Linked DNA regions of Homo sapiens: regions 1, 2, 4, 5 and 6 are each linked to region 3. The links are contacts of gene promoters, found by promoter capture Hi-C in blood cells and fetal thymus (Javierre and others, 2016). All regions are on one chromosome and are shown on one strand. Each heading gives the region's core, a stretch centred on a gene start or on the middle of the fragment in contact. The rest is flanking DNA. Distances are from core to core; before and after follow the strand shown.

The links. The method cuts DNA at HindIII sites, captures the fragments that hold promoters and counts their contacts. A CHiCAGO score of 5 or more calls a contact.
Region 1: the fragment with the promoter of FKTN here is called in contact with the fragment with the promoter of NIPSNAP3B in region 3 in 1 of 17 cell types (total B cells); the score reaches 5.0 in total B cells.
Region 2: a contact is called between a fragment that was not itself captured here and the fragment with the promoter of NIPSNAP3B in region 3, in 1 of 17 cell types (total B cells). The highest score is 7.6, in total B cells.
Region 4: a contact is called between a fragment that was not itself captured here and the fragment with the promoter of NIPSNAP3B in region 3, in 1 of 17 cell types (M0 macrophages). The highest score is 6.1, in M0 macrophages.
Region 5: a contact is called between a fragment that was not itself captured here and the fragment with the promoter of NIPSNAP3B in region 3, in 1 of 17 cell types (monocytes). The highest score is 5.1, in monocytes.
Region 6: a contact is called between a fragment that was not itself captured here and the fragment with the promoter of NIPSNAP3B in region 3, in 4 of 17 cell types (M2 macrophages, M0 macrophages, endothelial precursors and 1 more). The highest score is 8.0, in M2 macrophages.

What each region holds. Positions count from the first base shown.
Region 1 is chr9:105,556,614-105,560,890 of GRCh38, forward strand. FKTN (fukutin) reads left to right here and starts at 1,518. Exons shown (of 11, transcript NM_001079802.2): 1 at 1,518-1,552. FKTN-AS1 (FKTN antisense RNA 1) reads right to left here and starts at 1,693. Exons shown (of 3, transcript NR_184141.1): 1 at 1,157-1,693; 2 at 501-562. RefSeq lists enhancers at 1,379-1,428, 1,589-1,778. The HindIII fragment of the contact is 7,231 bases long and covers 662-4,277 here.
Region 2 is chr9:105,393,973-105,398,203 of GRCh38, forward strand. SLC44A1 (solute carrier family 44 member 1) reads left to right here. Exons shown (of 16, transcript NM_080546.5): 16 at 1-3,374. Among named protein-coding and RNA genes, the nearest start is that of FSD1L, 52 kb to the right of the region's middle. The HindIII fragment of the contact is 4,279 bases long and covers 1-4,177 here.
Region 3 is chr9:104,762,655-104,767,127 of GRCh38, forward strand. NIPSNAP3B (nipsnap homolog 3B) reads left to right here and starts at 1,475. Exons shown (of 6, transcript NM_018376.4): 1 at 1,475-1,646; 2 at 3,671-3,881. The coding sequence starts at 1,587. RefSeq lists silencers at 1,204-1,403, 1,601-1,790. The HindIII fragment of the contact is 4,394 bases long and covers 1-4,343 here.
Region 4 is chr9:105,427,398-105,431,888 of GRCh38, forward strand. It overlaps a transcript of SLC44A1 not described here. Among named protein-coding and RNA genes, the nearest start is that of FSD1L, 18 kb to the right of the region's middle. The HindIII fragment of the contact is 6,517 bases long and covers 1-4,491 here.
Region 5 is chr9:105,476,037-105,480,468 of GRCh38, forward strand. FSD1L (fibronectin type III and SPRY domain containing 1 like) reads left to right here. Exons shown (of 14, transcript NM_001145313.3): 6 at 3,318-3,340. Among named protein-coding and RNA genes, the nearest start is that of FSD1L, 30 kb to the left of the region's middle. The HindIII fragment of the contact is 2,099 bases long and covers 1,051-3,149 here.
Region 6 is chr9:105,410,892-105,415,045 of GRCh38, forward strand. It overlaps a transcript of SLC44A1 not described here. Among named protein-coding and RNA genes, the nearest start is that of FSD1L, 35 kb to the right of the region's middle. The HindIII fragment of the contact is 1,578 bases long and covers 843-2,420 here.

The sequences.
Region 1 (4,277 bases), core at 268-2,767, 790 kb after region 3:
CCAAATTTAGTGAGATTAAGATCAGTGGGTTTAGGTGATGCCAGTCTATTATAAAGTTCCCCATCAACCTTTCACCTTAATTTTATCATCTATTGATGTTGCCCTTTCGATTATTTTATTAGGAGTTACAAAATCGTGATTGTTTTATCATCCTCCATTTATTAGCTGGAACTCTTATAAGTACTTTGGTTACACTAAAATTCAATTCATACAAGAAAGGCAGGATAAATGCTTGATGTTTTCCCTTATCAAGTTTTAGAATATTTAATCTTCAACTTGGCAATCTTCAATCACGACTGAATTTTATTTTTTAAGGAGTCATTATAAACTCAAGAATTTTTATATTTGATGTGTTTCAATCAATAGCAAGTATGTGATGCTCAAGTTTTCCCATGTCCCATCACGTTAGCACCTGTGTTAATGATGCCATTAAGCTTTGATAACTTACTTCCTCTTGGTGTAACCTTCCACTTTTTTTTATTAACCTACTGAGTACCTACCCGTTCTGAGTGCATTGGATGAGAGGACTTCAACAGTAAGCTTGTATGTGCATAGGAAATTTCTGGAAGGAAAAACAAAAAGTTGGTAAATGTCATAACCTGTAGGAAGTGAGGAAGATTTTTTCTTCCTTTTCTTTCTGTACTGATAGAATTAAAAACAAAGCTTAGAAAACAAATATATGATGGGAGTATTTTCCGTTTTGTAGAAATAAATTATAATTACAGTAACTGGTTTAGTGAATTATGGTTTTCAAAAATTTATAAGAAGATTAATATCTGAGCCTTAACAACCACCTTTTGGATTACACCGTTAAAAGAACCAAAGTGAGAGGATCGCTTGAGGCCAAGAGTTCGAGACCAGCCTGGGCAAGATGGTGAGGACGCCCTCCCCCCCACCCCCGCCACACCCCGCCCTGCTAGCCCCCAACGTCTCTACAAAAAAAGAAAAGAAAAAAGTTAATCAGGTACAAAATTGTATCCAGCCTTAAACTGGAGGGCAACAGGTCGCTAAATCTTGAATGTCATAAAGGCACCTCAACTTCATGAGGAATAGTGAACGCAGCTGCTATTTTCCACTCTATCCCCTAGCTCTACTAATTGTATCCAAACCAAACTTCAGGGAGTTATGCTGAATCCCTCTAGCAAAGCACACGCACTAAAAAAACCACTCGTTTATCAGAAGTTCACATTTAACGGGCTTGGAAAACGGCTCAGCTGCTGCCTCCAGTTCATCTTCCGCTGTCGAAAGCGTTTCAGAACTTAAACTCTCAGATTGCCTCAGTGCGCTGCTGTAGTTGTCAATTAGGCAAGAGATAAAAAAGGGCTTTGGCTAAGTGGCTAGATTATAAAAGCGAGGAATCGCCAGGGCTCAGTGAACTTCTGGCGGTGAGGATGCGACAAGAGTCACAGGAAAGCCGAGGCTGGGGCTGGACCGTGGGAACGTCCCAGCAGGAACCAAGCCAGCCTCCGCCGCTCAGCACTTGACGGCGGCTTTTGCGGCGGTTGCTGTGAGTGCCGTAAAGCGGAGCGGCTGCAGCCTGCTGTTGAGTGAGGTAAGGTACGGGAGGCTCAGGTCGGTACCCGGGGATGGGTGGGCGCCTTCAGACAGGTACCGCTGGCGACTCGGGTGCCCTTACCGGGCATCCTCCAGCATTCTGGGCACCTGCCTACCCCTTGGTGAGGAGGCCGGCCACAGGCTGAGCGCGCTCCGGGCTGGGTACTCCTCAGTCAGTCCACGAGCATCGCGTGGTAGACTTCCACTTGGCCAGTCCTTCCCGCACTTCTGGGCGTGTCATCAGGTGAAATCTTAATCCTGGGACAGATGAAAGGTTGGAGGACGATCGAGACTCTTGTAGTAGCCGGGTTAGGGTAGTGACCCCTGACCTCAGGTTATCCGCCCGCGTTGGCCTCTCAAAGTGCTGAGATTACAGCCGTGAGCCACCGCGCCCGGCCTGAAATTTACAATTTCTCATTTAACATGAGGTAAGCCACATTTCTCTTGGCTTCAGTTTTGTCAGATGTGGAAAAAAAAAAAAAAGGACCTAGATGATATATCAGATTCTTTATGCTTTTGAAGATAGCACGTTTCCAGTCGGTAAAAATCAAGCTGTGAACAAATGACAAAGTGAATGATAGAGCAGTATATTAGAAATTGGGCAGATGGAAGCCCAGTAGAAAAGGCTGTGTTTGAGCTAGACTCTGAGGATAAATAGGGTTTGAACGATTGGAAACCATCTCTGTTGGGCCATGGACAAAGATATCAAATGCAGGAATAAGCATTTATATTTTAGCGATTCTATTTGTGGACATAAGTTTAGTGAGGGTAGAGGATTTGGGAAGGCTGGCATTGAACGGTGAAAGAACTCTTAGTGGAAAGGAAGTGCAGGGTGTTCTGACAAGGAAGAAGAAAGGAACCGGGGAAATGCCGAAAGAACAATACGCAGGACTTGATTTCTTGGATCTGGGTGATGATATTTTTAACCTGCGTTTCTAAAAAGTAAGTTTAAGTGCTGTTGGCAAAAATGGGAATTCTGTTGAATTCCAGCATGCAATAGTGTACTGGGAATAAAGTGATTTAGATCGTAGAGTGCTGAGGTTGCCAATAACTAGCCTCTTGGCTGTCATTTAATTCTTCTAGAGCCTATTCTCCATAAGGTGATGTTGGGCCAGCTGATCTCTCTTCTCTAAAGCCTGTAAAACTAGAGACTGTGAGGATGGAGAGCTAGTTACTTTCTTCTGGACTGGGAGAGGACGATAGTTGACAGAGAATAAAATTGTTAATTTTGGGGCTGGACGCGGTGGCTCACGCCTGTAATCCCAGCACTTTGGGAGGCTGAGGCGGGTGGATCACCTGAGGCCAAGGAGTTCGAAACCAGCCTGGCCAACATGGTGAAACCCTATCTCTACTAAAAATACAACAAATTAGCCGGGTGTGGTGGCGGGCGCCTGTAATCCCAGCTACTCCTGAGGCTGAGGCAGGAGAATCGCTTGAACTTGGGAGGCAGAGGTTGCAGTGAGCCAAGATCAGGCCACTGCACTCCGGCCTGGGCAACAAGAGCGAAACTCTGTCTCAAAAAAAAAAAAAAGTTAATTTTGAACATGTTAAATTTGAGGTGAGGTGCAGGAAATAGAGTTGAAAATATAGGCAGATAGAGTGCATGGACTGTAATTTAAATAGTGTTTTCTCTCACAGGTGGTAGTTAAAATCTTGAGAATGGATTTGGTTTCAGGGAGAGATTGTAGAGAGAGTAACTATAGGCCATACCCACAGAGAGGAGGTTGGAGAAATTATTGAAGGAGGCATGTGGATCTCAGAGCTAAGAGCAAGGAAGGAGTTCTTTTTAAAAAAGTTACATATAGTTGTAGATTCTCAGGGGCCCAGTGTTGTTATTAAGCTAATTTAACAGCATTTACAGCAAATAATAAGCACCTACTTCTGGGAATTCTGGCAGAAAATAAATAATTCAAATAGATATAATCTCCACTGCCTAATTGTCTACCCAGAAGTGGTATCATTTACATATTTATTTATTCAACAAATATTTATATGTTTCAAGCACTGCTGGTTCTAGGGATATAACGACGAGCAAGGTAGACATTGTTCTTATCCTCCCTGCATGTAAAGCCCTTAGCATCTACATCAGTGCTTTTCAAATTTTAATGTACATATGAATCATCTGAGGATTTTATTAAAATGTAGATTATGAATCAGTAGGTGGGGGCTGAAAATTCTGTATTACTAACAAGCTCCAATGTGATACTGATGTTCTTAGGACCATACTTTTAAGTGACAAGAATCTAGATCCTGTTTAGCAAATATGGCCGTTATTAAGCCACTACCACTACCCATCATCTGTTTCTCCTAGGATAAAATAATTTTACTTCTTATGAAAATAATATATGCTTATACAAATATTGGAACAATATAGAAAAGTGTAAAGAACCATGTAAAAATCACTCCTAATTCTCCCTACCCAGAGATAACCATTATTAATATTTTTGGGAACATTCATCCAGATTTTACATATGTACATACATTCACAATTTAAGTGTTGCACTAAGTACATGTCACACTCTAAGCCCTGTGTTTGATTCTATTTGCTGTATGATTTTATTAAGATAAATACCCAAGTGTCCAGAACCAAGCAATTAAGTACTTGCATTCTTGAGGGAGCCACTTAAAAATAATTTGGGGGCCAGGCACGGTGGCTCACGTCTGTAATCTCAGCACTTTGGGAGGCCAAGGTGGATGGATCACGAGGTCAAGAGATCAAGACC
Region 2 (4,231 bases), core at 788-3,287, 630 kb after region 3:
TAATATTTGATATTCAAAAACAAGTTATTTTGAAGAGACAATGGGTCTCTTTGAGCTTAAGAAAGCTATGGACTATCTTTCCTTCAAATGCACATCACATGTCTGTGAACACTCAAAATGCTCATAGAATTTCAGGGCCCTCAGACGGCCAGCTTCCACCCCTGTACCCCCTCAGGGGCTAATGAACCCAAGTCAAAAGGCTGCTCTAAAGTTGTTCTGATAATGTGTTTTGAAATGAGGAAGTGATTAGGCCTCCACTAGAGATACTTTTGAGATGATGCTTACCACCTTCTGACCTGGAATCATTTTTATAACTTAAAGACTTTATGTAATTTAGTAGCAGGTTAGGGAATAGAAACCACACTAATCTGAAGGAATAACAAGATGATCAACACTGAATCTTCATGACAGTAAGATTTTCTTTCCTTGGAGGTATGAGGGTGTGTATGTGTGTGTGTGTGTGTGTGTGTTTGTGTGTGTGTGTGTGTGTCCTGGCGGTTATTTGGGGGCAAGGTACCAGATTATTTGCAGTGAGCCAAAAAAAAAAAAATATCCAAGAAGAAATAAATAGGGAATCCTTGTAATTAATCCATCTACCAAAACACTTGATTCTTTTTATTGTAGCTCAGCTATGACATTATGACATTATGTGGCTTAGTGTTATCAGTATACTACTGTCTTAAAATATATTTGTCAACATGTCCAGTTCCAACAACAGTTGAAGATGATGATAAATTAGCAAACTCAAGGGTAGTCCATAGTTGGCAAAAAATAAATTTGGTAGAAAGTTGGAGGAGCAGATGCTGAAGGTAGAAATGCAAAAGATGTTTTTTCTTCCTGCATAAATCACGGAGGTGTGTTCTGTTTTAGTGTTTTCCAGTCACCCACTAGAGCAGCTTCAGATTCCTCTGCCAATAGAACTCCACCCCCAGTCCCTTACCTACTCTATCTTCTTTAGGGAAGCATGTGGATTTCTTCACATCTGCACCTTACTATTAGGTAAGGGTGCTGCATCTACATGGAAGGCTCCCTGGGCCCTTGAAAAAGCAGGCAGAAACTCATCAAGGGGTTTGAAGTTCTTGTGAAATTTGATCCCAGTGGCTCATGACTTATAGTCAGGCATCAAACCATTTCCTACTTTTTCAGGCTGAAGAAAGTGGAAATATAACTGGCTGGTGAAGAAAGGAGAAAAGTCAGCCCCCTACCCCACCCCACACTCCTAGAAAAGTTTGGGGGTTTTTTTTGTTTGTTTTTGGTGTTTTTTTGAGACGGAGTCTCGCTCTATCGCCAGCTTAGAGTGCAGTGGCTCAATCTTAGCTCACTGCAACCTCCACCTCCCAGGTTCAAGTGATTCTCCTGCATCAGCCTCCTGAGTAGCTGGGACCACAGGCATGTGCCACCACACCCAGCTAATTTTTGTATTTTTAGTAGAGACGGGGTTTCACCACGTTGGCCAGGCCAATCTCGAACTCCTGACCTCAGGTGATCCACCCGCCTCAGCCTCCCAAAGTGCTGGGATTACAGGCATGAGCCACCGCGCCCGGCCTAGAAGAGTTTTAATGAACCTTCCACAGTAGTAAATGCAGAGACCACTGGTGGAAATTCCCATGTTGGATAGAAAAGGGCGTAAGTCCAGTCTAAGTATCTAAATGTGATATGCCCTTTTGTCACAGAAGTGTAAGACTTAAAGGGAATATTCTGACCTTCGTGTATGAATCTGATCCACCCATCCTGTCAGCTAGGATTATAATTTGAACTGTCGTTTCAGGAGCATGTGTTAAATCATATGAGTAAAAAAAAAGTAGACATTGAAAAGAAGACTTGGGAATAATTGGGCAGATAGAATGGGTTCCATGGATCATTCTAGTTGCCACTAGAAAATGTGAGCTCCTTCTTCATTTACCATGTTGATAATCCGGTGGTGACTTTTTTTTTTTTTTTGTAAATTGTATTAGATACCCCACAGGAATGTGACAATAATAGGATAGCTTTGGGGGCTGGTGATTTGAAACAGGGACTATTAAGTAGATTTTCCCCCATCCTCTAGGTTCCTGTAGTCTGTGCTCAGAACTTGGTTTTTGGCCCCTATTGTTTTTGCCTATTTTGATTTTCAGAGATGATCACATGGGGACAGTTAACTTTTCTTCTGCTGTGTTGCCTTAATGCTACTAGATTGTGTTGTGTTGTTGGAGTTTTCTGACTTCTTCCCTATAAAAAGATACTGAGAGCTCCATAATGAAAGAAGTTGTTATACTTTCTCAGAATATTCTGGACCACTGAATGCACTTCTAATAGAGCTTTAATCTAAAGAAGTTAGTTCAGTGGTTATTAACTGATTTTATTACAGGAGAAAAAAACTTTAACAAAAAGGCAGGGAGAAAAGTGTGAAGGGCATCAAGCAAAATGACAGGGGCTTCAAAAAACAACCAAAGACAAAACCCTATCTTCTGAAGACCAAAGGTCCAACTTTACTTACTGGCTGGCACAGCCTTTCTGAACTCCTTGAGTTTAGAATAGAGCTCCTAGAATAATAAGGCGGCCAAATTTAAAGATCAGTCAATACAGTAGGGACCTGCTATTGATCTCTCAGGCACTGAGTCTTCACATCCAGTGTCAAGCCCAGCCCAGCATATGGGGTGATATGAGCAGAAAACACACATCGGTGTGTCTTGATTTCTCGCAGCTGTGTAATGTGGCATGAGAAGTATGTTTTGGTGCCACATATTTCTCAATCTGATGCCTTTTTGTCTTTTTTTTTTTTTGCCATTTGCATCCTATTTCATAGTGCCAAAATGAATTTTTGTATCTTGTCTTGTCTTTGTCCATTATAAACTGGAGGATCACAGTTAAGCCTTCCATGAATTCATAGTTTGGAATCATTTACCTTACCATTATTTTGGATTTTTTTCTTATTACAGTGTCACTACACTGTATTCATGTGGGGGAACAAACATGTAGGTGCTTGAACATGCCCCACAGACACAGTTGTAGCCCTAGTATTTGTGACGGTCATTATTGACACAGTGCAGACTTTGCAGATGGAGCATTATGCTCTCAGAGGACTTTAAAAATATGTATATTAAGCAATTAACTTTCTGGAGTTGGAGTTATCAAATCTTGCTGGGAAATTAACTTCCAAGAGCTCTGAATTGGATGGAATTCCATCTGGCTTCAGAGAACAATCAGCCTATATGAAACGGAGCTTTGAAATGTTTTTCTTGTGCAGAAATACGAACTAGAAAGAAAAGTGCTGATCTAATGCTAAGTTTTCTCTGTGTACTGACTCAGTTGCCAGAATTATAATGAAAACTGTATTTTAGTCTAACAAATGTATAGAATTTTTTATGTAATAAATAAAATTTTATAGGAAAGAATGTTATTGTCTACTGTGTTGTAACACTTCCCCATGCCCAGGGTGGTGACTGATAAAATCATGGGCAACATCTTCGTTTCAAATTAGGTCAGTATGCTGCAAGGGTGCCCCAGAATTTCCCAGCTGTTCCTTTCTGTCTCTCGCAGCATGTTCTGGGGGCTTCGGAATAGCAACTATAAATGTACCTAAACCAATTTCTGAAGTACAAAGTTCATCCACTGCCAGGCCAGGCTTCATAGCTGGAGTCTGAGTTGCCGCGTGAATGCTAAGATTGCAACTGAACTCAATCATCAGGCAGAGTAGAAAAGCCTCCACTGGGCCGGGCGTGGTGGCTCACGCCTGTAATCCCAGCACTTTGGGAGGCCGAGGCGGACAGATCACAAGATGAGGAGATCGAGACCATCCTGGCTAACACGGTGAAACCCCGTCTCTACTAAAAAAAATACAAAAAAATAAGCCGGGCGTGGTGGCGGGCGCCTGTAGTCCCAGCTACTCGGGAGACTGAGGCAGGAGAATGGCCTGAACCCGGGAGGCGGAGCTTGCAGTGAGCCAAGATCGCATCACCGCACTCCAGCCTGGGGGTCATAGCGAGACTCGGTCTCAGAAAAAAAAAAAAAAGAAAAAAAGAAAAGAAAAGCCTCCGCTGGACAGTGTCCATCATGGAAGACATTCATTGTGCCTGGTTCAGTGCCCTGCACGTGAATTGGAGCCTGGATCTGTAATGAGTTTAGTGCGTTTGTGAAACTGTGTGGTGTGCCATCATTTAGGCAGTAGCTGTGCCCCATTTAAAGTTTAGAAAAATCAAGCTTTTTAAAAACCAATAATTTTAGGTAATGTTAGGGACGAAGGAAGGGATGT
Region 3 (4,473 bases), core at 225-2,724:
GGATGGGAAAGATTAGGAGGAAGACAAGGATGGGAGAGATTTGTTAAACAAAATTATAGCTAGATAGGAGGAATAAGTTCTAGTGCTCTATACCACTTCAGGATAACTATAGTTAATAATATATAGTTTCAAATTGCTAGGAGGATATTGAATGTTCTCAACACAAATGATAAGCCCCCGGGGGAGTGGCTTCTGTGAGACCTAAATCCTCATCTGCCACAGAAGGAAGGCAACACATACTCTCCATAACTGAAAATGCAAGAAATAGCAGAAAATGACTATTATTTAAAAATACGGGCCAGGCGCAGTGGCTCGTGCCTGTAATCCCAGCACTTAGGGAGGCTGAGCCGAGAGGATCACCTGAGGTCAGGAGTTCAAGACCAGCCTGCCCAACATGGTGAAACGCCGTCTCTACTAAAAATAGAAAAATTAGCCAGGTGTCGTGGCGTGCGCCTGTAATTCCAGCTACTCAGGAGGCTGAGGCAGGAGAATCTCTTGAAACCGGGAGGCGGAGGTTGCAGTGAGCCAAGATCATGCCACTGCACCCCAGCCTGAGCGACAGAGCAAGACTCTGTCTCAAAAAAATAAAAAACATACGGAAACAGGTATTAGAAGAACAGCTTAAAATGTTGAAGGTGGTTAGTCTGGGGACCAGTACTCTGGGACTGGGAGGACTAGACCAGAGGTCGGCTGTTTTGCTCTTAAGGCTTACAGAACGATCTAGTTTCAAACTATCTATGTTTAACTTCGACTTTTTCCTATCAGGCTCGGTGCTGCTATTCCACTGAGCTCATGGAAAATTAAATCTTTATTAGGAGCCTTCCAAGATCACAGTGGGGTGGCAATGGGGACAGATAATGCAGAAAAGCGAAGGCTCACTGGTCTACAAATACACGTCTATCACAACCTGTAAAAGTTAACCCTGTCCCAGCCTGGCCAATATGGTGAAACTCCGTCTCTACTAAAAAATACAAAAATTAGCGGGGCGTGGTGGCGGGCGCCTGTAGTCCCAGCTACTGGGGAGGCTGAAGCAGGAGAATGGCGTGAACCCGGGAGGCGGAGCTTGCAGTGAGGCGACATCGCGCCAGTGCACTCCAGCCTGGGCGACAGAGCAAGACTACGTCTCAAACAAAGAAACAAGTTAACCCTGTCAACATCTCGACTTTAAATGCAAAGCACTGCACATGCACACGCTGAACACCTCCCCTTCCTTCTCCAGGGGCAACACAAGCACAACCGCCGCACATTTACGAATCTACACAACTGCGCATCGGAGCGAATGAGGTCAGGGCCCAGAAAGGTGGGGCAGGAACGATCCCAGCCTTCAGCTAATTCTGTCACCTCTAACGTCTGGGGCAAGAACGTTTCAGGAAACCAAGGGGGACCGAGGCTCAGCGCCGAAGAGAAAGACGCCAACTGCGGGACCTGTCGCGCCTCCCGCGCCGGGGTGGAGCTGACCCCGCCGAGTCCCGCCCCTGCCTGAGTTCGCCAGTGGTCCAGGAGCCGCTTTTTTCCACTCGGGAAGACTTCAGAGAAGTCTCACAAAGGACTCGGCTGGCTGCTTTTCTCAGTGCCGAAGCCGCGCCATGCTCGTTCTCAGAAGCGGCCTGACCAAGGCGCTTGCCTCACGGACGCTCGCGCCTCAGGTACTGGCCGCGGGGGCGCGCCCGAGCCCTGGCCGGAGGGGAGGGGAGGGGCGGGGGGTATTTCTGAAGCGTGCGAGCCACGCTCAGGCGCTCCCAGACCTGGGGCCCCGCGCCGCCGCCGAAGTTCTAACGCGGTCTCTGGAGCCGTCTGGCGCGCAAGGAGGAGGCTACAGGCCGGGGTCGTCTCGCTGGCAGTCGCTGTCAGAGGGGTTTTCTAACTGGATGCCAGTGTTTTTGTGATTTTTGTTTTTGTTTTTGAGACGGAGTCTCGCTCTGTCGCCCAGGCTGGAGTGCAGTGGCGTAGTCTCGGCTCAGTGCAACCTCCGCCTCCCGGGTTCAAGCGATTCTCCTGCCTCATCCTCCGGAGTAGGTGGAATTACAGGCGCCAGCCACCACGCCCGGCTAATTTTTTTTGTGTTTACTATTTAGTAGAGTCGGGGGTTTCACCATGTTGGTCAGGCTGGTCTCGAACTCCTGACCTCGTGATCCGCCCACCTTGGCCTCCCAAAGTGCTGGATTGCAGGCATGAGCCACTGTGCCCAGCCTGATGCCAGCTGTTTCTAGCCTAAATGCCACAACTCCCGGGACACCCCCGTGGCGCCAGCTGTTGCGTTTTTTTAGGATAACATCTCCAGATACAAATCTCCGAAAATCAACTTTAAAAGCAGTTATTAGAAATACCTCATTGGCCCATTTTCCGAGATAATAATATTTTTAAACTGTAGATACTAAGCAGTTTTTTATTTTCAGAATTTGATTAAACTGACCCAAAAAGAATGGCCATCAAAAGAAAGGATAGTTGCAGGTATTTTTTGGTATGAAGAAGGGTTTTCTAAGAAAACTAAGACACTTGGGCAATAAGGGCATAACTCATACTGGAGATGAATGAACTCAAGATAGACAATTATAATTAAGACGTTATGCACACAAACTACATAGACATTTGCATGTTGTAACCAAAAATATGTCAGTGAAAGATGCCTACTGAAACTGTTGCGATAGATTATTCTGGGTAGTGAGCCTCAGGAAATTGTCACATGCTAACCATGCCTAAATGAATGGATTTGTAAACTAGAATGCCACGGGAGTGGTCTGTGTATACACGTGTGTTTACATAAATATTTGCATGTACGTACATACAGACAGACTGGATAATTTCTGACAGGGCATTTGCTACTGAACATTAAGCTCACTCAGGCTCAGAGGGCCAGATTAGGACAGAAAATTTACCCATTGGGCATATGACTATTACAAAGGGTGGTTCTTAAAGGATAGTTCCATAAACTTGGTATAATTGAGTGCACTAAATGTACATACTTCTTGATATTGCATCTGTAATTAGAAACAATGATGGAGACAATTCTCATTTGTTGAGTTTTTTTCCTTTTCAGCCTTTATGCAGTATACACCCATAGTACAATGCAATTGGATAAGTTATAGCTTCCTTTTATATTAGTTACATTCCAGTCCTGTTTTTGACCGGTAGTCTTCATCAGTAGATTCAGGAAATACTTTGACCTGAATAGCCCTTCCTGTTTTTTTAGGAACCTTTTAAAAACAAGAGTTTTTTGTTAGTAAACGTATTTTTGGGCCTGCCAAAAGGCATGTGTACTTAATAAATTTTTTTCAATGTGTGGAACTAATACATATGGTATTGAGTAAGATGGAATATTGGCTAAACAGGGGAAAACCCTTTGTAAATTAAAGAGACTAAGTCTTAAATGTAGTTCTTCGGTAAAGGAGTATCATTATGATCCCACAGCCTTCTTGTGAGCAAATTCTCGTGAAAAAATGGCTAGAGGTAGACCCCTGCTAGGAAACAGTTGCTATATATTCATCAGAATTAAGAGTAGTTATCTTTATTGACATCTCTATGTAAACAAGTGTATATGGAGAATTGACAACAAAAGTAAACAATGGATAATGAGTCTATGTGTGTTCCTTGTACCAGACTCAGATTTGGTTGTAACCAAATCTGTAATTGTACCTTCCCAAGATATTTACATTTGTCTTACCTCCTTCAGGTGTGTTCATCTTTTGCTACGGGCCCTAGACAATACGATGGAACGTTCTATGAATTTCGTACTTATTACCTTAAACCTTCAAATATGAATGCGTTCATGGAAAATCTTAAGAAAAACATTCATCTTCGGACCTCTTACTCTGAATTGGTTGGATTCTGGAGTGTAGAATTTGGAGGCAGAACGAATAAAGTGTTTCATATTTGGAAGTATGGTAAAGAGTCATCCAGTTTTAGTATTCAGTATAGATTTTCATTCTGTTAAATGTAACATAAGACTTAGTTCTTGGATCTATATTACCATAGATACATACAGGTTAAGTAAGACTTTTTAAAAGCAATACCAAAAAAATAAATTTAGCAGATCTTCTTCCCAGTGGTACACCTCTAACCACCCCTTGCTTGAACTCTTATGTTATCATAAATGAGAAAACATGCAGTCTCATATATCAAACCATAAAATTGTGAATTAGACTTTAATCCTCAGAAAAATGTTAGAATCGTTTGCTATAAAGATAGCTCATGAAAAATTTAAAGCAGTAATTGTAAATGTTCAAGTGGGTTAAGATCACCGTTGGGCCTGCCAAAAGACATGTATATTTAATAAAAATGTTTTAAATGTGTAACTAATGTATATGGTATTGACGAAGATGGAATACTGGCTAAATAAGGGAGAAAGCTTTGTAAATTTATGAGACTCCTAATTGCAGTTCTTGGGTAAAGGAGTGTCATTAGGATAAGATAATTTTTTTTTTCTTATTATTGTTACAGCTAGGGCTGGATATCAGCATTTTTGCAGAAATAATT
Region 4 (4,491 bases), core at 626-3,125, 670 kb after region 3:
ATAATGCTATAATGATCATCTTTGTATAGAAATATGATGTCTTTAACTTATTTTTTTATAGAGACAGAGGTCTCACTACGTTGCTCAGGCTGGTCTCAAACTCCTGGGCTCAAGCAAGTCTCCTGCCTCAGCCTCCCAAAATGCCAGGATTCAGGGGTGAGCCACTGCACCCGGCCTCAGAAATATGATTTTTAATAGTGGAAGTATATTCCCTTTTATTAAACTTTTATTTATAATCTTTTTATTATAGAGATATCTTTGCCACCCTGCTAATTCTTTCCTTTAGATAGACTTCTGGAAAGGGAATTACTACATCAAGTGGTGAAGGCACTCTATGAATGTTGATACATATTGCCAAATTGCTCTCCAGAAAGGCTCTACCAATCCTTTGTACTAAAGTCTATGAATGTCACCATTTTCCACATCCGGCAGATACTCATATCATCATTCTTATCACCCTTAATAATAACGGCAAAAGATGACAGCCCTTTGTTATTTTAATTTGTATTTTTTAGTAATTTATTAGTCCTTTATGTTTCCTCTTCCGTAAATTCTGTATTCATGTCCTTTGCCATTTTGTTATTGAGATGTCACCATTTTTCCTACTGTTGAATAAAAGATTTTTATGTATTAGGGATACTAGTACTTTTTCGGTCATATTAGTAGCAAATCTTTTTCCTTCTTTGTAGTTTGTCTTTTAATTTTGCTGGTGATAATTTTACCTATAATCTATACGATGTAAATTTTTGATAATTTCCTTAAGCCCCCAAATCAGTAAATTTATTGATAATTCCCTTACGCCCCCAAATCAGTTAAATAGTTACCTATATTTTCTATTTTTAAAAAATTATTTTCTTTTATAAATTAAGATACAATTTATATTCTATTTTTAATGGTTTCCTTTCACTTTTTATACTTATTAATAGCTAGAAATAATTTTGTGATATAATATGGAGTCAGGCCCATTTGTTATGCAATTTATTCCTTCCCCCATCAACTTGTGTGGATATTTTGTCACATGGAGTAGATCTATGATATTCTAAGAAGTATAGTTGTTCAGAGTTTAGACTCTGTGATCAACCACATCTGGGTTCAGATCCTAGCTCTGCCATCTTTTTGGTCCTGGGCAAGTTACTTAGCCCATCTAATTCTCAGTTTCCCCATCTGTAAAAGACTGATTGTTGGGAGGATTCCATTATCCTGAGTATGCAGAACAGTCAGCATGGGCTGTGCTACCTAGGAAACATTTAGTACAGTATGCATTCACTACTAGAATTATGACTATGATATCGATGAAGTTATTCATAACTTTTTTTTTTGAGATGGAGTCTCGTTCCCATTGCGCAGGCTGGAGGGCAGTGGCGCAATCTCGGCGCCCTACAGCCTCCGCCTCCTGGGTTTAAGCGATTCTCCTGCCTCACCCTCTGGAGTTGTAGTAGCTGGGACTACAGGCACGCGCCACCACGCCCAGCTAATTTTTGTATTTTTAGTAGAGTCAGGGTTTCACCATGTTGGCCAGGATGGTCTCGATCTCCTGACCTCGTGATCCGCCTGCCTTAGCCTCCCAGAGTGCTGGGATTACAGGCATGAGCCACCACACCCGGCCGGTTATTCATAACTTTAATAAATTCGGATATTCTTGAATGGTGCAGGAATACTCACTTCAAACTTTTAATGAGTTACTGGGCATATGGTCAAAAAATAAAACAAAGCTGCATTCACATCTCCACAGTGGCTGTTTCCTTGTCTCACTCACAGGTAAGTGATACGCTTCCACATCCACAGGGCACACAATTCGTATCTTGCCTTAAAAGGAAGAACTGAAAGGATATAAAACCAGATTATCTCAAAGGTTAGAGTGATTTAGGAGTAGGGCTTTTCTGTATTACTTTAATCTTTTTGGTTTGTTTTCGTTTTTGTTTTGAGACGAGGTCTGGCTCTGTCATCCAGGCTGGAGTGCAGTGGCACGATCACAGCTCACCGCAACCTCCGCCTTCTTGGCTCAAGCCATCCTCCCACCTCAGCCTCCCGAGTAGCTGGGACTACAAGTATGTGCCACCGTGCCTGGCTAATTTTTGAATTTTCTGTAGAGACAAGGTTTTGCCATGTTGTGCAGGCTGCTCTCAAACTCCTGGGCTCAAGCTATCCTCCTGCGTTGACCTCTCAAAGTGCTGAGATTATAGGCATGCACCACAACACCTGGCCCTTCTGTATTACCTTAATTTTTGACAGTAATTATGCCTACTGAGGGGAAAACAATAAAGATGTACCCTTGGAAAAAGTGCTTACCTCAATGAAGTTACAGATTAATCATCATCCAAGATTTAGAATTTATTGCAAATAGTAAAAACATTAACACTTAAATCTTCAAATACGGAGAAGCCTTTTAGGAACCATTTCAAGGTATGCAGAAATTTGGTGTGATCTCAATTTTATTTAAATCTTCTTTCATATTTCTTTATGCATGTGTATACCTTAATTATAGGTTGTAAAATTACAAGTATATATATATATTTTGAGACAGGGTCTCATTTTGTTGCTCAGGCTGGAGTGCAGTGGCATGATTACAGCTCACCACAGCTTTGACCCTTCCAGGCTCCTCCTGCCTCAGTGATCCTCCTGCCTCAGCCCCCTGAGTAGCTGGGACTACAGGCATGTGCCGCCAATGCCCGGCGAATTTTTAAATTTTTTGTAGAGACATGGTCCCTCTATGTCTCCAGCTCCTTGGCTCAAGCAATCCTCTTCCCTTGGCTTCCCCGTGCCTGAATTACAGGCATGAGCCACCACGCCTGGCCTAATTATAGTTCTTATGATGTGGAGCTCAATCATCTATTACTAAATTATTTCATAGTTATTTTCTTTCTCTTTTTTAAAAAATTAAGATATCATTAACATATCATAACACTGACCATTTTAAAGTGTTTACTTCATGGTTTTTGGCAAATGCACAAAGCTGTGCAACTAAGACCACCACGTGACTCTAGAACATTTCATTGGCCCAAAGAGAAACTCCATGCCTTTTAGCATTCAGTGCCTATTCCCCTCACCCAGCCCCTGGAAACCACTATTCTACTTTATTTTGCTGTGGATTTGCCTATTTTGGATTCACGTGAAAGAAATTATACAATATGTAGAATTATTTTTGTCAGCTTTTCACTTAGCATGTTTTCAAGTTTCAATAATGTTGTAGCATATACCAATATTTCATCTCTTTTTATGGCTGAATAATGTTCTGATGTGTGATATATTATATTTCGTTCATTTATTCATCAGTTAATGGATACTTAGGTTGGATTTGCACCTTTTCGCTATTCTGAATAATGCTGCTATGAGCATTCGTACACAAGTTTTTGTGCGGACATACGTTTTCAATTTTTTTGGTTATATACATAGGAGTGGAATTCCTAGGTCATATGGTAATCCTGTATTTAACTTTTTGAGGAATGCCAAATTGATTTACACAGCAGCTGCCCCATTTTACATTCCCACCAGCAATGTATGAGGGTTCCAATTTTTCTACATCCTCGACAAGTGTAAGTTTCCATCTTTTTGATTATAGACATCCAGTGAGTGTGAAGTTGTATCTCAGTGTGGTTTTGTTTTGCATTTTCCTTATGACTAATGATGTTAAGCACCTTTTCATACATTCATATGATGAAGTCAAATTATCTGTCTTTTCCTTGGTTGCTTGTTCTTTTGCTATCATGACCCAGAAATCATTGTTTAATCCAAGGTCATACATATTTAGCCTTAAGTTTATCTTCTGAGAGTTGTATAGTTTTAGCTCATACATTTAGGTCATTGATCTATTTTGAATTAATTTTTTATATGTCATATATGGAGTATATGTAGGTGTATATGTATGATATATTTGTAGATGTCCAACTTTCTTCTTTTGCATGTGGATATCCAGTTGTCCCATTTGGACAACAACTATTTTTTTCCAAATGAATGGTCTTGATATCGTGTCAATGTCCAAATCAATTGGCCATAGATATGTAGGTTTATTTCTAGATTTGCAATTCTATTCCATTGGTCTATAGGTCTTAGTTGAGCTCTTGATAAACACTGGCATGAGATGAGTATATTTCATTCTCTAACAAGTGCCTGGAGTATAGCTGAACACTAACTGGCCCATGCTGCTTACCTGTCAGCTGACGTGAGTAAGAGATTGACAGCCTCCTCTGAGACATGAGGATCATAAAAAGGGCATGCGCCTGAAAATAGTTTGTACCTCTGATCAGCTCCAAGAGTCTCCATAGAGACAAAAAGACAAATAAGGTCCAAATTCCAGTCCATATAGCTTGGCTAAAATAATCTGAAGCCTAGTAATTTTTAGGCGGGTATAACTCATACACCCATCTCAGCACCCTCAAAATCACCTGATAAATATTTATGGAGTCCCTGTTCTGTGCTGTGTACAACAAAGCAGCTTTAATTTGAGGATTTTATTTCCTGGCATTCTTCCAACAAACTACTTGCAGCAAAGTT
Region 5 (4,432 bases), core at 850-3,349, 710 kb after region 3:
TTATCTTCAAAGTGCTTGATAAATTCACAGAAGAAAATAGTTTCTATATTCACCCATTACAGATTAAGAACAAAAGAGATTGGGAAAAGATCTGTTAACTTTTTTCTATGTGACTGGGAAAATATCTGGTTTAACGTCTTTAAATTTAATTGGCAGTTATGAAGATTGGTTTGCGATTACTTCTTCTTTACTCGTATTACAGTTTCTCTGCATTCATATCAGAGATGGTGCCTTCCTTTCTCCCTCTCTCTCTCTCTTCCCTCATTGCCTCCCTCCATCTCTTAGTTAATTGTTTTTAAACTAAATCTTACAATTCCATTTCTTTAATCAGTCATAGAAGTGTCACCTGAGACCAAACTTCCTTAAGTAGAATTGTAATGCTGAATTTTGTCAAACATCTGTTTAATTAGTACCAGCTGATTCCAAGATTTACCACTGCTCTGTTGCCAACACATTTATTTGAGCCTACATAATTCCATGTAGTGAGTTATGAAGAAGCTGCAATGAATGTTTAGATTTATTTTTAGGTTATGGTACTGTATATTATTGAAAAGCTTCCAAGAAGCTTAGTTATATTACTTTACTCAACATCACTCTTTAGATCTTCTATTGAAATCCTTTCTGCCAATTTTGTAATTGACAAAAGTCACCGTTCTTGAAATAGAGGAATAGAAACTTAGAAGCTGTATAGTATTGTGTATCTTTTGGATACCTTTCTGTTTTGAGAGAATTCTAGAAAAAAAAATTATTTTCCAATTTAAGACATTTCTTGAAATTGGGCCCTTTCAAAGAAATATCTTCAGAATTTGAAACTCTGCCTTCTAATCATTGCTCAGAATAACTTCTTAAACCTCTCTTGCATTTATACAATATATATGCAGTAAAATTTGAACCTAAATGAAAGTGGAGCCATGGGAGTTTTCAGTTTTACTAGCTGGGTATATTCTATGTAAATGCATGGACAACAGTTTTTCCTAGATTATCTGGCTTTTCATTTATTCCTTTCCTGGTTTTTCACAAACAGCATGGTACATGAAGTGATACCATAAAAGCTTTGCATGCATGCATATGTGCACACACACACTAAAAATTTTTACCTTATTAAATTTAGTAACACTTGACACAAAATTGAATCATTGTGGTCAGTTTAAAAAACGGTAATCGTCTTCATATCATTGGGTTATGCAAGGGTGATTGGTAATATTTCTCTAAGTTTGAAACCAGTTAGGAAATAAGACAAAAAAAAACTGATAAGAGGCCAAATAATGATAAAAGCATATTGGAAAAGATGGCTTTTGTTATTGGGCAAGTTTCCCAATACTAAATACCTAGAATTAGACAGACAAATTCACCCAGGCATGATCAGCAGGGGCTGCCTCAGGTGATGGGCAGGGGGAGCCTCTTTCAGTGAAAGTTATGGTACAGAGGGAAAGAACAGAATATATGTTATCTGTGGGCAAGCAAGCTGTGAGAAAAAGCAGAAAGTCTAGTTTCTCCTTTCAAACCCATTATCAGATAAGTCATATCATTTTCCTAGGAGAAATAAGGGAATGGAGAGGCAAAGAGTAATCCTGGTAGTACTTGTTTCATATCAGGTACAGAGAAGAGTCCTTTCTTTCCTTCCTTTAACACTTACATTAAAATCTTTGTTTTGTAATTCCAGCTTTAATGATAGTAATTAAAAAATCAATTAAATTAACTTTTTAAACATTTTCTATCTCTGGTACTACAGTAGTTTCATGACTTAAGATACAGATTCCACAGAATTTGTTTGTTTGTGTAGCACGTGGGAATGATTTTCGGAAACATTAAGAAACAAAATTCCTTAGAAAAGAAATAGAATGATTAATATACAAGGTCTCAACTGATTAATAGTAATGCTGAGACTGTATAATATGCTGATCTCTTAAATCTCAGTTCTGTGTTGCCTGGGTGTGCTGGCTCATGCCTGTAATCCCAGCACTTTGGGAGGCTGAGGCAGGCGGATCACGAGGTCAGGAGATCAAGACTGTCTTGTCTAACATGGTGAAACCCCGTCTCTAATAAAAATACAAAAAAATTTGCCGGGCGTGGTGGCGGGTCCCTGTAGTCCCAGCTACTTGGGAGGCTGAGGCAGGAGAATGGCATGAACCCGGGAGGCAGAGCTTGCAGTGAGCCAAGATCGTGCCACTGCACTCCAGCCTGGGCGACAGAACAAGACTCTGTCTCAAAAAGAAAAAATCTGAGTTCTGTGTTTTTGAGTAGAAAGAGTCCTCAGACCAGAATGTTTTAGGGTGGATATAAAAATGACCAATAATGAATAGGAACAACGTTAGAACTGAAGAAGAGAGGCCACAGAAGCATTGCTACATATATCTAATTAACATTCAAATAAGTTTAATAATTATTAAGTATTACTATGTCCTAAGCATTTTTGCTAGGCACTGGGGATACAGTGTTGAGCAAAACAGCCTTGTCTATGTCTGATATATTGTTAACTGTACTGGTTACTGTGGAGAAAAAAACTTTTGTTGGATATATTGTATGTAAATATAAAAGGGACAACAGTTTTTACTTGTTTTTTATTATTTTGTGTGACCATGCAGCCCCAAGTAAATAGCTGAGTTCCCTTTCTAAACTTGTGCTTGCATAAAAAAAAAAGACAAAAGAGATACCTTATATATAGGTTTAAGTTGGTAGCATGTATGAAATCATCATGGAGAAAGACCCCATTGCTAGAAGTATTTCTCTGGTCTCTTTGTGTCTGAATTTCTGCCATTACAACTTTCTTTGGAGTAAAGGTTTATAGAATTGCAGCCTAGTTGTATTTGTTAGCAGGCAAACTCTGAGAATTCCTTGCCCTATAGAGGCATATAGAGAAAACTTGGAACAACGATTATGAAGTAGTGAAAGAGATCTCTGAAGAAAAATTAGAGAGTAAATTTGACATGTACAAGAAAACCATGAAGGAAGTTGTCCCATGAAGGAGATTGGTTGCTCTAGTTGATGAGTATCAGACTGAATGAAAGTGGAGGTGTGTTTTGATAATCTTAAGGTAAGAATAAAACATTTATAGTCACCTGGAATTTGTTCGAAGTGTTAAATTTTCCTCCTAAAAGGTGATTTTTGTGGGGTCTGGATTTTCTACTATAATTCTAACATCACATGAAAGCTTATGTGAACTATACACATAAATTTTCTATAGTTTGTGTTTTGGTGAATATGAACTAATCTGTTGCAGGGTTTATATCCTAACTTTTCTTGCATGTCACTGCCATTGAAACTTGCATGAAAAGCACTAACTTGCCTTCTTTCTCTTCTCCCTGATTGGCTCCAAGGCTGCCAGACAGATCAAGGATAGGTATGGTATAAAACACATTTTTACTTAAGTATAAATATTGAAGTCAGAAATGAAATTCAGAAATAGTTTTTTAATTAAAATTGTGTTAGTTAAGATAAAAGTACCCAATGACCAAGTACAAAATAAAATGTCCTCTGTGTATTTTCTTGGAATAACCATTGTATCAATAAAATTTTTTAAAAGCATAGTTGTGGATAATTATGTGCTTCAGAAGAATTTCATTTCTGGTGTAGAAATATAGTTAGTTTTAGTTTTAGAACAGTTCTTAATTAGTTGTACTAATGAAAAGGGAACTATTTTGAATAACTTAAAAATATATATTTCTGGAATGTGTTTTTTGTTGTTAAATTTAAATGTAAGTGGGTCTTATTTTCTTTGAACTCACTCATTTTAAGTAGTCCTCAAGAACTAAAGCGCTCCTATTTCACTGCCCTCCTGTTTAACACCTTGTATTCTCATTCCATCCTGTTCCTGGTGCCATCTCTTTCTATTTCTAATGCCACCACTATCTAGTTAATATTCTGTGGGAAGAGAAAATTAAAGAAAATTATTAAAGGTTTTGGTTTAAAAGTTCTTTCTTATTGGTAGAGCCAGGCTTAAGAAAAGGAATTTAGTACTTGTAATGAACATAGATTGCTAAAGGAGTTGCTGGCAACATTTGGATTGCATTAACACAGAAGGAACAGTTTGGATCTGCCTGTCTAGTCACTGAGTATTGTCTGTATTGAGATTATAGCAAGTTTTTTCATCTGAGGGTCATGAGATTCTCTGAAAGGCACAGCTCTTCAAAGTGCCACTCCAAATCCTAGATTAAATTATTCTTCATCAGATAATTCACAAAAATTTTCATTATAGATTATGTGAAAAACAGTGCCTCTATTGTTAATCTTGGCTGACAGTTTTACTTCTGGGTTTCTCTTTTTTTTTTTTTTTTGAGGCAGAGTCTTGCTCTAGCACCCAGGCTGGAGTGCAGTGGTGCGATCTTGTCACACTGCAACCTCTGCCTCATGGGCTCAAGTGATCCTCCACCTCATCCTCCTGAATAGGTGGGACTACAGGCATGTGCCACCACACCCAGCTAATTTTTGTATT
Region 6 (4,154 bases), core at 382-2,881, 650 kb after region 3:
TGAACCTTGAAAACATGATGCTAAGGGGAAAAAGCCAGACACAAATGGCCACATATTGTATGATTCCATGTATATGAAATATCTAAAATAGGCAAAATCCATAGAAACAGAAAGCACATTCATGCTTATCAGGCACTGGGGAAATTGGGAATTACTGCTTATTGGAAATACGGTTTCCTTTTTGGGTAATGAAAATATTCTGGAACTGTATAGTGGTGATGGGTGCAAAACTTTGTGGATGAACTAAATACCACTGAATTGTACACTTTAAAATGGTTAAAATGGTAAATTTTATGTTATATATATTTTACCAGAATAAAAATAAAGACATACAGAAAAGTTAGAAGAATAGTTCAAAGAATTTTTATATATACCCTTCATCTACATTCCCTAAATGTTAGTATTTTAATGCATTTGCTTTTTCTCCTCATTTCCACTCCTCTATCCTTCTTCCCTTCTCCTTCCCCTTCCCCTGCTTCCCTTTTCCTACCTCTCCCTCCCTCTCTCTTGCTCTGTCTCCATTTCTCTCTGTCTCCATCTCTCTTGGTCTCTCTCTGTGTATGTGTGTGTGTGTGTGTGTGTGTGTGTGTGCGTGTGCATTTTACAGACCTTCTTTAAATTTTAACAGTTGTCCCACTAATGTTCTTTATGGAAAAAAGCTTTTTTTTTTTCTGGTCAACAATCCAATCTAGGATCACACATTGCATTTCATTTTCATGTCTCTTTAATCTCTTTTAACTTGGAGCAATTGCACAGTCTTTTGTTGTCATTCATGACCTTGATGTATTTGAAGAGTCAGGCCATTTATTTTCTAGAATGACCTTCAATTTCGGTTTGTCTAAAGCTTCCTCATGATTAGATCCAAGGTATGCCTTTTTGGCAGGAATACCACAGAAGGCATAACTGTGTCCTTCTCAGTGCATCATATCAGGAGGCACATGATCTCGTTTGTCCCATTACTGTGTGCTAACTTTGATCATTTGGCTAAGGTGGATCTTCCTGGTCTCTCCAATGTAAATGTACTGTTTCTCCCTTTGTAATTAATAAGTATCTTGTGGAGACATATTTTGAGACTATGTAAAAGTCCTATTTCTCATCAACTTTTCACATTATCTATTCACATTCTTCTCTGAAACAGCTATTACTGGTGTTTTCATATAATGATGATTTTCTAATTTCATCATTCTTCCTATATTTATTAGCTGGTGTTCTACTGTAAGGAAAATCTCTTCTCACCCACTTAGTTTTTCATCAAATAAATATTTATTCATCAAATAATATATATGTTAAATAACGTTTTAATTAGTCATCAAATACATATTTATTTGTTGAATAAATATTGATTATTCATCAAATAAATAAATATCAAATCCCAGATTGTTACTTTTTTCTGTTATCCTCATTTATTTTTATGCCCACATTGTCTCAGATTTAGCCAATGGGAGCCCATTCAAGCTGGCTCCTGTACTTTTGATCTGTCCCCATCATTCTTTGAGTACTTCCTTATTCACTGACGCAACCAGATGTTCCAAGCTCATCTTATGCTTTCCTGGTTTCAACTCTGTAATCAGCCAAGTCTTCAAGTGAGCCCTAGTTCCTTTTAATGGAAACTGGTATTTGGAAACCAAGGTCTGGGCACAATATGTGCTTTTGTGGTAGCTATTTGATAATAGCGACCACATGATATACAGCAGGAGAAAGGAAATGACTGCATTACTTTTTTTTTTTGAGATGGAGTCTCACTCTGTCACCCAGGCTGGAGTGCAGTGGCGCCATCTCAGCTCACTGCAACCTCCGCCCCCTGGGTTCTAGCGATTCTCCTGCCTCAGCCTCCCGAGTAGCTAGGATTACAGACACCTGCCACCACGCCCGGCTAATTTTTTTGTATTTTTAGTAGAGACCGGTTTTCACCATGTTGGCCAGGCTGATCTCGAACTCCTGCCTCAGATGATCCACCCGCCTCGGCCTCCCAAAGTTCTAGGATTACAGGCATGAGTCACCACGCCCTGCCTACTCTGCATTACTTTTTATAGGTCAATCCACACCTGGAATATAAATGAATGAGAGTGTTTTCAGAGACAAGCCTAGAGAAGATATCTACTGGGAAAAGAGACATCTTGGGGTAGAGAAAGGGAAAAGCAATGATTACTATATTCAAATATCTAAAGGGATGTTGTAGAAAAAATGGTGTCTATAGTCATGTCCTGAGCCCCTAAAGGGTTCTAATGGTTGGAAAAAGAGACTTCTGTTTCATCAGTCAATTAACATATGTTAATCACCTATTACTATCAGGCTGTGGCAGTGAGTGCTGATTGCCCTGCTATTGCTCTTCTGCCCATCTTTTTCATGAATATAACCCAGATATCATTCTGGTTAGCAAAATGCCTTACTAAAATACTCACCTTTCCATACTTCCCTGAAGCTTGAAGTGGTCGTATGACATAGTTCTGCCCAATGAGATATAAGCTGAAGAATACTGGCAATTTCCAAGAAAATTTCGCCTTCCCAATATAGGTGCCGCCCATCTTCCTGGTTTTCCCCTTCTCTGGCCTGTCTGGAATGCAGATGTGATCCTACTTGAAAGAACAAAAGACATATTACAAACACCAACAGAACCACAGACCAAAGATGGCAGAACCAAAAGATAGAAGGAGCCTGGTTCCCAGAAAGCATTCTTGCCTGATTTCTCCACAGTTGGGCTTGATGTCTTCTGGGCTTACTGTTACATGAGAAGAATGAATCCCTTTCTTGTTTAAGCCACTATAATAGGTTTCTGTTAAATGCAGCTGAGATGCAGTCCTAATCCAGGCACTATGCTAAGTCCTAGGAGGGGAAAGGCCACCTAGTGGAGTCACTGGCTTTTCCTGCCTATCAGACAGAATGTGAGGAAGACTTCCTAAAAACTGGAACACTACCAAGATGGACTTAACCCCAGGAGAAGACGTGATCCCCCTGACTACGAAGGAATGTGTGTAGAGGCTGGGTGGTACTTTTGCAGCTGGGATGTTGTAAAGCAGTATTGAGCACAGAGTGAAAGGCTAATTCAATGACCTTTAAAGTCTATTCCAGTGCAAACATTTTTCTAAGAGTCAGAAAGTTAAAAAAAAAAATAGATGGACTCAGGGCATGCTAAGCTTTCGCTGGACAGTTAGTGTTTGGTTTTTTTTTTTTTTGTATTTTTGTTTTTTTGAGACAGAGTCTTGCTCTGTCGCCCAGGCTGGAGTGCAGTGGCACGATCTTGGCTCACTGCAACCTCTGCCTCCCGGGTTCGAGCAATTTTCCTGCCTCAGCCTCCCAAGTAGCTGGGATTACAGGCACGCCCACCATGCCTGGCTAATTTTTTGTAGTAGAGATGGGGTTTCACTGTGTTAGCCAGGATGGTCTCTATCTCCTGATCTCGTGATCCGCCCGCCTCGGCCTCCCAAAGTGCTGGGATTATAGGCGTGAGCCACCACGCCCAGCCGACAGTTAGTGTTTTTTAGCTGTAGTCTGCATTTGGATCGATGATTTTCATTAAAGTTCCTAAGAATGCATGCTCCCTCAGCACCCCCTGGGTAAACATGTTATAGCAATTTTAAGTTTCTAATGAAATTTTTGTTGTAATTTATTTGTAGCAATCTAATTTATCCCTTTTTTTACGACTAGAATTTTTATTTATCTTGGATTTACAAAGTTAATATTGCCGTAAAACATAGCAGCATTTTAATTTTTAGATAGTAATAGATTTATTATTTTTATCTGTGTTTAAAATCATAGTAGTCTGGGCACCGTGGTGCACAACTGCAGTGCCAGCTACTCAAAAGGCTAAGGCAGGAAGATCTCTTGAGCCCAGGAGTTCTAGGCTGTAGTACGTGATGAACACACCTGTGAATAGCCACTGCACTCCAGCCTGGGCAACATGGCGAGACCCTGCTAGAACAAAAAAGAAAAAAAAACCATAGGAATAAGATGCATTTTCACCACTTTGGAATGTTTATGTCCCATAAACTAACCATTAGGGATCTGTTTATTGGCAGAGTTTCTGTAAATATATGAATGCTCTTGATGAGAAAAGGAGATTTTTTTTTCCTCTCAGAGTGGAAGCCAGGTTCTTTGGTGGGATACTCACCCATCAAACATAAGAAAGGAAAGGTCAAGACTTTACTGGGTTCTAT